3 separate regions of the Homo sapiens genome follow, and regions 1 and 2 are each linked to region 3. The links are contacts of gene promoters, found by promoter capture Hi-C in blood cells and fetal thymus (Javierre and others, 2016). All regions are on one chromosome and are shown on one strand. The core of a region is centred on a gene start or on the middle of the fragment in contact, and the rest is flanking DNA. Distances in the headings are between cores, read along the strand shown.

Region 1 (2,916 bases), core at 213-2,712, 530 kb before region 3:
TTATGATTTTCAGTTTAAGATCTTCTATTTCTCCACATTGATATTCAGGACGTGCCTCTGGGCTGTCAGAGGTTGATCCCTCAGCTGTTCAGGCTTTGACTTGAATGTGGAAGTCAGGAGTTGATTCCTGTAACTTTTACTGCCAATGGTGTTGAAAGAAGAACAGTGTAGGGCCTTTCCCAGCTTGGCTTAGGGAAGGAGACAGAGATGAGGGTTTTCACTAACACCAAATTTCCTGGGTTAAATAAAGGTGGTTCTGTTTCCTGGGGTTGGACTTCTGTTAGTTGCGTTAATTCTTGTTGGAAGTGAGCTAGAGAGGTTACATGCTTAACCAATTTAGAGGTTTCCTGCCTGAAAACAATCTCTGAGCACACTGATAAGTTTTATCCTTTCCCAAGTGAAAAGCTTGGTGAAGGATTTTAAGGACATTGGCTGGAGGCTGGCAAATGGAGTTTGCCATCCTCTGACTGTAGCCTTTCTGAGGGCTGGGAACTACGTCCTCGAGAAGTGGCCTATTTTATTTCTGCAGGGAAATACTGAGGTTTAATTTTTCTTATGGAGCCTTCCTAGATTAGAAGGGGCTTAAGTGCCTTAACGGCTTGAGGCTTCCTTGCCTCTGACTTAACTGCCTGATCAGCTAACCTATTTCCTTTGGCTACCTCATTTGTTCCCTTTTGATGTTCCTTACAATGCATTCCTGCTATTTCTTGTGGAAGAAAAACTGAAGATAACCTGCTAATTTCCTGGTGATATTTTTATAGGGGATCTATTAATGGTAAGAAAATGTCTTTTCTTTCTTTCTTTCTTTTTGAGACGAAGTCTCGCTCCGTCGCCCAGGCTGGACTGCAGTGGCGCGATCTCGGCTCACTGCAACCTCCACCTCCCAGGTTCACGCCATTCTCGTGTCTCAGCCTCCCAGGTAGGTGGGACTACAGGCGCCTGCCACCACGCCTGGCTAATTTTTTGTATTTTTAGTAGAGACGGGGTTTCACCATGTTAGCCAGGATGGTCTTGATCCCCTGACCTCGTGATCCGCCCGTCTGGCCTCCCAAAGTGTTGGGATTACAGGCGTGAGCCACCGCCTGGCCGAAAATGTCTTTTCTTTCAAATGGCAGCATGAGCATGGAGAACCAAGAAAGCATACTTGGAGTTAGTATAAATGTTAGCTACCTTTCCCTTGCTTAATCCAAGTGTGCTTGTAAAAGCTGTTAGCTCAGCTAATTGAGCGCTTGTGCCTGGGGAGAGACGTTATTTAGAGTGACTACTGCTTATCCTGCCTTATGTACTTCTTGCTTTACTGGCGGTTTGTTGGCTAAGAGCTCCCCCTAGAGGACAGTAATCCTGCCACATTATGTGGGGTGTAAACAGTTAAATTATTTCCTAGGGTTAACTTGGAGGCTTTTCTGATTAGCGAGCTGTCATGATAATGGCTTGGAAGCACGTGTCAACTAAGGTTGAGAAAAATACTGGAGTAGAGTTTTTCCTGAGATGCCCCTTCTGGTTGTGCTATGGGAAGAGGGGAGGCCTGGATTAGAGAGGAGAAAAAAGAGAGACTGGCTGAGTGTTTAGAAAGAGGTCTACTTTCCTTCTTTTAATTTCCAGAATCACTCAGAGCTCCTGTGCTGTAATGGCAGTTTGAGCCGCTGGAGCTGGAGTTTGAGCCCCGGGATCCAGTTCTGCTGGATCATCAGTAAGACTGGTTCTGAACCCAGTGACCTCCACCTCTGGGGGCAGTTCCATCTCCTGTTGTCTCTGCCACAGGCTGGAGAGGGTTGAGGTGGCTTTGTCTTGCTGTATGGGCATTCTTTCTTAACATGCTCTGGCCTGCCACACTGATAGCAACTAGCAGATGCACCTCCGGGATCCTGGACTTTGCAAGCCTGCAAAGCTGCTGCTAGAGTCTCTGTCCTTCTGACCATTGTCTCTTTCTTTTGGGCCTCCTCCTGGTTCCTATTACAAAAGACCAAAGTGGCCACTTTCAGGAAGTTCTCTAAGGTGCTATCTGGTCCTATAGCTTGCTTGTGTAGTTTCCTTTTAATATTGGCAGCTGCCTGTCTAATAAACTTGTCCTTTAGGATGAGCTGTCCCTCGACTGAATCAGGGGATAAGGAGGGGTGTTCTGTTAGTGCCTCTCTCAGCCTTTCCATAAAGGCTACAAGATTCTCATCTGGCTGTTTATCATGGACAGTTTAGAGTAATTGAGAGGTTTGGCCCTGGTTTTCCGTAGGCCCTCTAATGCACACTTAAAAAAGAGCTTCCTTTTCATCTCCTGAGTTATTGGGGTCCCAATTAGGGTTGTCAAGGGAAACTGCTTTCCTCCCAATTGGGAATGGCATTTCTGCTATTTCTTCTCTTTCCTTATCTGCTTTCTTCCCTTTTGGTGTATTATAGGAGATATGTTGCTAATCTCTGAAATCAGAGCTGCCTGCTTTTCAGCTGCAGTGAGGGTCTGACTTAGGAGCAACATAACATCCTTCCATCTGAGGTGAAATACCTGAGTTAAATTTTGGAAAGCTTTTTTTTTGAGACGGAGTCTCACTCTATTGCTAGGCTGGAGTTCAGTGCCGTGATCTTGGCTCACTGCAACCTCCACATCCTGGGTGCAAGCGATTCTCCTGCCTCAGCCTCCCAAGTAGCTGAGATTACAGGCACATGCCACAACGCCCAACTAATTTTTGTATTTTTAGTAGAGACGGGGTTTCACCATGTTGACCAGGATGGTCTCAATCTCTTGACCTCGTGATCTGCCCGCCTCAGCCTCCCAAAGTGTTGGGATTACAGGCGTGAGCCACTGCGCCCAGCCTGGAAAGCTTTTATATACCTATCAGGGTTGTGAGAAAATTGGCTAAGTCTCCCTTTATTACAGGCCTAAGGGGCTGTAACGAGAAGGGAACTTGAAGGGGCCCCCAAAGAAGG
Region 2 (2,895 bases), core at 184-2,683, 550 kb after region 3:
TCTCCAAAGGGGCAGACTCAGAATTGTCCACTGTACCTTCTGTCACAAAGACCCAAGCTTCCTCCAGCTTCCAGGATAGCAGTCAGCCAGCTGGAAAAGCCGAAGGGATCAGGGAGCCAAAGGTGACTGGGAAGCTAAAGCAACGATCACCTAAATTACAGTCCTCCAAGAAAGTTGCTTTCCTCAGGCAGAATGCCCCTCCCAAGGGCACAGACACACAAACACCGGCTGTGTTATCCCCATCCAAGACTCAGGCCACCCTGAAACCTAAGGACCATCATCAGCCCCTTGGAAGGGCCAAGGGGGTTGAGAAGCAGCAGTTGCCAGAGCAGCCTTTTGAGAAAGCTGCCTTCCAGAAACAGAATGATACCCCCAAGGGGCCTCAGCCTCCCACTGTGTCTCCCATCCGTTCCAGCCGCCCCCCACCAGCAAAGAGGAAGAAATCTCAGTCCAGGGGCAACAGCCAGCTGCTGCTATCTTAGATGGTTGAAAACTAGACGGGTGGCTCACTGCCATTGTCACCAGGTTGGAACTCTTGCCTCTGTGAGGATGCCTTCTCTACTGTGCATACCCATGAAATTTAATACACATTTTAAAACCTCTGGCCACTGAGTATTTTTGAGGGAACTGGGTGCTGCCTTTGCCGCTTTAAGGGTAAAGATGGGAGGTGGGACTGGGATCTTCTGAGGAGAGGGAATGGTTGGGTGCTACTGAGAAATAAGGTCAGTTTTAGGCTCCTGCATCCTTGGGTTTTCCCAGGAAGGGAAAGCCCTGGAGTCAGAGCTAGGGGTGATTGAACTCCGGGGAGAGGAGGGCAATAGAAGTGTAGGGGAAGGCGGGGCACACTAGCTCATGCCTGTAATCCCAGCACTTTCTGGGAGGCCAAGGCGGGTGGATCACCTGAGGTCAGGTGTTCGAGACCAGCCTGGCTAACATGGCGAAACCTCGTCTCTACTAAAAATACAAAAAATCAGCCGGGTGTGGTGGCGGGTGCCTGTAATCCCAGCTACTCGGGAGACTGAAGCAGGAGAATCGCTTGAACCTGGGAGGCTGAGGTTGCAGTGAGCCAAGATCGCGCCACTGCACTCCAGCCCGGGCGACAGTGAGACTCGGTCTCAAAAAAAAAAAAAGTCGTGTAGGGGAGATGGGCTTGCCACCAGAACCCATGGGGTACTGGAGGTCCTGGGCTTTACGCCACCCCGGCTGGAGTCCAGGCGGTGGCTCCCCTCATCACAGGGCTCGGCCTCAGACCCGGAAAGGTCCAGGGTCCGGCCTCCAATTGGAGCCTGTCATTGGCTTCCCCTCGGCCCGCCCCCTGACCTCTGCCCCGCTGCCGAGCCGCCTGATTGGTCGGCTCTGTCCCGCCGGCGCCGCATTGGCTCTTCTGGCTCGCCTTCCATCCCTGCTCCTGCACCGGTCTGCATCTCCCAGCAGAAGGCGCAGCCATGAATCCGTTATTCGGCCCCAACCTCTTCCTCCTGCAGCAGGAGCAGCAGGGCCTGGCCGGGCCACTGGGGGACTCACTGGGAGGCGACCACTTCGCCGGGGGAGGAGACTTGCCCCCGGCGCCTCTCTCGCCGGCCGGCCCTGCTGCCTACTCGCCGCCCGGGCCGGGCCCGGCCCCGCCTGCCGCCATGGCCCTCCGCAATGACCTGGGCTCCAACATCAACGTGCTCAAGACCCTGAACCTCCGGTTCCGCTGCTTCCTGGCCAAGGTGCATGAGCTGGAGCGCCGGAACCGGCTGTTGGAGAAGCAACTGCAGCAAGCGCTGGAGGAGGGTAAGCAGGGCCGGCGGGGCCTGGGTCGTCGCGACCAGGCAGTGCAGACCGGCTTCGTCAGCCCCATCCGGCCCCTGGGGCTGCAGCTGGGCGCCCGGCCGGCCGCTGTCTGCAGCCCTTCGGCGCGCGTGCTGGGCTCGCCCGCGCGCTCCCCGGCCGGCCCCCTCGCGCCCTCCGCGGCCAGCCTCTCGTCGTCCTCCACCTCCACCTCCACCACCTATTCCTCGTCGGCCCGCTTCATGCCCGGCACCATCTGGTCGTTCTCGCACGCCCGCCGGCTCGGGCCGGGACTGGAGCCCACTCTGGTGCAAGGGCCTGGCTTGTCGTGGGTGCACCCGGATGGGGTGGGCGTCCAGATCGACACCATCACGCCCGAGATCCGCGCTCTCTACAACGTGCTGGCCAAAGTGAAGCGGGAGCGGGACGAGTACAAGCGGAGGTAGGGATTGGGAAAGGGGGACAGGTCTCTCTGTGTCATACCACTCACAACGGGCCGCGAGTTGGTGTGGGTTCCGAAGAATCAGGGGTGAAAAGAATGAGAGTAAAGTTTGTGCTGTGTAATGAGGAGCTTGGAAGCAATTGGATGCAGGGAGACTAGAATCCGCAGAGAATGCAGAAGCCCTGCTCGTGACAGGAAGAAGGACGCTGGGAGCGGAACACGGGGGGATTCCTACTTTTCCGGCTTGTCTCTGCCATCCAGGCTTAACTGCGGGTTTTGTGCGGTGTGAAAGGGACTGGGGCTCTGCCCTACCGGTCTCAGCCCTGGGGCAGGTTAGGGATATAAACTTCAAAAGTAGGAGGCAAGGATATAGCGTAAATTTGGGAGACTAAATTGAGTGAAACTGGAAGGGGCTGGTGAGGGAGGGGCTGTACCTTGCAACGAGTGATTCTTTCACACCCCAAGGTTTCCCAAAGAATATTGATGGAAACCAGGTACCTGCTGTGGTTTCATAGGAAAAGCTCCGGGACCTCAAGCCATTGCTTGAGTAGGTCAACAAACTGGGAAAAGAAAGAGTGAAGGGAATTCACTAGGGTGAGGGTGGAGAGCAGGGCTGACAGGGGAATCTTGGCAGTATAAAGCGCCAGTGGGGAGGGAGAGTGGAGAGCCAGCAGGGG
Region 3 (2,818 bases), core at 43-2,542:
CTCAAGTTCAAGGATCACAAACTTCAATTCTACAAGAGGGAGGCTCCCCGGGTATGTCGTGAACGGAAAGGTCGGGGAGGAAGAGACATGGCTGATTGAAGGCAGCAGCCATAACTCACAAGGAGCCATCCTACACACATGGCAAAAATTAATGTTAAATAGTACAAAAGGGTCGAGTCAGTGCCCTGCCACCCTGACCTCTGAGGGCCAGCGAGGTTTTTGGACGTTTCTCCCCTAAGCTGCGGCGGGCCCGCTGTTCCTGAGTCAGACGGCAGGTGGCGCTCAGCCCGGAGAATTGGAGAAGGGGAACTGTGGAGTTGCTTAACATTTCCAGGAACTTCCTCCTCCCCCACCGGCCTTCACCTTTTGTTCCCTATCCTGGGCCAGTTCTCTCGCAGGTCCCAGATGTCCAGTTCCAGATGCCTGGACCCAGAGTGTGGGGGAAATATCTCTGGAGAAGCCCTCACTCCAAAGGCTGTCCAGGCGCAATGTGAGTGTGGCCCCGGCAGAGGAGGAGGGAAGAGGACGGGAGGGGAAGAGAAAGGGTGGGTGGCCGCAAACCCTCCCTCCCCCCACCCTACCCCCCCCACACACACATCCCCCCCCCCCCCACACACACACACACACACACACCTCCCCCACATACACACACCAGCAGCAGCAGCAGCAGCAGCACAGCAGATATTCCATGGGGAGACTGAAATTTGCCTGTGGCCTCTAGCACCTTCCCAGAGGGTGGTCGGGGGATATTTACGGCAGACCCTCACTCGCCCCACCATTGCTCCCTCGGATCCCAGGGTGGGGTGGGATCTGCTGAAGCAGAAAGCACCCCCCTCCTTTGGACGAGACTCTCCTGGGAGATGAGCAAAGGTGATGTCTTCGGAGGATGGAAAACCCACAATCCTAGAGCTCAGGCTGCGCGGGAGGCTGTAGGGATTGGGGTGAGGAAGGGGAGCAAGGGAGGAGACGGGAAGTGCCCGGGCCTCAAGGGTGAGGCCACAGCTTCTAGCCCTGCCTCGCGAGGCCTCTGAGTCCTAGCGCGGCTCCCCCGCTCCTCCCACACCCACAGGCTTCCGGCCATAGCTGCGCGGCCCCACCTTGCCCTCCCCCCAACTCACAGGTGGTGGCTGCTTCTCTGGGGAGTCCTCCAGGCTTGCCCAACCCGGGGCTCCGTCCTCTTGGCCCAAGAGCTACCCCAGCAGCTGACATCCCCCGGGTACCCAGAGCCGTATGGCAAAGGCCAAGAGAGCAGCACGGACATCAAGGCTCCAGAGGGCTTTGCTGTGAGGCTCGTCTTCCAGGACTTCGACCTGGAGCCGTCCCAGGACTGTGCAGGGGACTCTGTCACAGTGAGCTGGGGATGGGGGGGGTCCCGCCAGGACTGTGGCCAGGGAGATTCCCGGGGTTGTGGGAAGTGGCGGTGCCCTGAATCCCCCATCTGGAGGAGGGATGAATTTTCCATGTAGGGGCAGTCGGGCTTGGCTTACCGGGGAGCAGTGGTGGACCCCAGGACACAGCCTCCCACCAGCGCCTCCGGGGCTGCCATCTGGGCCCCACAGAGCAAAGAGGGCAGCAAGCAGGCCCTGCGTTTGGAAGGCTTATGAATGGACACACAAATCTTGCAAATCTATGGAGCCAGGGGCAGGGACGCACATATTGGTTGTTAAAAATATGTCATCATGTATTTGTTGAGTGCCTGCTCTATCAGGTGAGGAAGCTGGACACAAATAATAACAAAAGATTAAGTCACCGTTCACACTTACCTTGGAAGAGCTATTACAAAACTTCTAACGCCAAAGCCTTATTCAGAATAAGGACATTTTAAAAACAGTACTTGATGGAGTGATGCAAGCTTGCAGTCCCAGCAGTATAGTCAGGAGACTGAGGCTGGAGGATCAGAGGGCTGGAGCCCAGGGTTCAAGGCCAGCCTAAGCAACATAGCAAGACCCCATCTCAAAAATAAGTAAATAATAAATAAAAATAAAAAGAGCACATTATCTTTTGATTTAAATTTTATTTATATCAAAATGACATAAATTTTTGAACTTTATTTTTTAATTTTAAAATTTTTAATTATTATGGATACATAATAGTTGTAAGACTTTTTGTTTTTTAATTAAAGTTTTCTAAGGCTGGGCGCAGTAGCTCATGTCTGTAGTCCCAGCACTTTGGGAGGCTGAGGCGAAAGAAGCACTTGAGCCCAGGAATTTGAGACCAGCCTGGGCAACATAGCAAGACCCCATCTCTACAAAAAAATTTAAAAATTAGCCAAGTGTGGTGGCACGCACCTGTGGTCCCAGCTACAAGGGACGCTGAAGTGAGAGGATCACTTGAGCCTGGAAGGTAGAGGCTGCAGTGAGCTCTGATCATGACACCGTACTCCAGCCTGGGTGACAGAGTGAGACCCTGTCTCCAAAAAAAAAAAAAGGTTTTTAAAAAGGTTTATGAATAACAGCAGTCTCCAAGCTGTTCCTCCCCGCCCCTGAGTGCTGCTCCTCAGGAGCAGTCATTTGCCAATTCATGTAGCTGTTTCATCTGGTCTTTAACTTCATATGTATAAATAACATGCTTATTTGTCTTTCATTTTTACGTATTTTCTATTAATGCTCAACTACAGTATAGAAGATAAGGACTAGCTTTATCTGTCTTCAGTCTTCACCACCCACATTTCCCCTCCTCATTCTGCCAGTTTACCTATATTATCATTTTTAGTTAAATCTTTATTCATTATTTACATTATTATGACTGTAAAATATTCACATCTGAGCACATAGCATAAAATAATTATATTTCTTTTCTTCTCCAACTTTTGGGTTTC

What was found. Contacts are between HindIII fragments. The CHiCAGO score rates a contact against its expected background, and 5 or more counts as called.
Region 1: a contact is called between a fragment that was not itself captured here and the fragment with the promoter of C1RL-AS1 in region 3, in 1 of 17 cell types (fetal thymus). The highest score is 5.7, in fetal thymus.
Region 2: a contact is called between the fragment with the promoter of IFFO1 here and the fragment with the promoter of C1RL-AS1 in region 3, in 9 of 17 cell types (activated CD4 T cells, non-activated CD4 T cells, naive CD4 T cells and 6 more). The highest score is 22.9, in activated CD4 T cells.

What each region holds. Positions count from the first base shown.
Region 1 is chr12:7,641,454-7,644,369 of GRCh38, reverse strand. No RefSeq gene overlaps it. Among named protein-coding and RNA genes, the nearest start is that of APOBEC1, 23 kb to the left of the region's middle. The HindIII fragment of the contact is 2,109 bases long and covers 408-2,516 here.
Region 2 is chr12:6,554,580-6,557,474 of GRCh38, reverse strand. IFFO1 (intermediate filament family orphan 1) reads left to right here and starts at 1,433. Exons shown (of 10, transcript NM_001193457.2): 1 at 1,433-2,218. The coding sequence starts at 1,446. It overlaps NOP2 (NOP2 nucleolar protein), which reads left to right. Exons shown (of 16, transcript NM_001258308.2): 16 at 1-604. The coding sequence ends at 482. RefSeq lists silencers at 1,256-1,415, 1,466-1,705, 1,816-1,995 and an enhancer at 2,456-2,895. The HindIII fragment of the contact is 7,963 bases long and covers 60-2,895 here.
Region 3 is chr12:7,106,782-7,109,599 of GRCh38, reverse strand. It overlaps C1RL-AS1 (C1RL antisense RNA 1), which reads right to left and starts at 1,292. Exons shown (of 12, transcript NR_026947.1): 1 at 1,119-1,292; 2 at 653-927. It overlaps C1RL (complement C1r subcomponent like), which reads left to right and starts at 386. Exons shown (of 6, transcript NM_016546.4): 1 at 386-490; 2 at 1,121-1,349. The coding sequence starts at 420. RefSeq lists enhancers at 445-524, 1,165-1,334, 167-1,366. The HindIII fragment of the contact is 2,026 bases long and covers 1-1,854 here.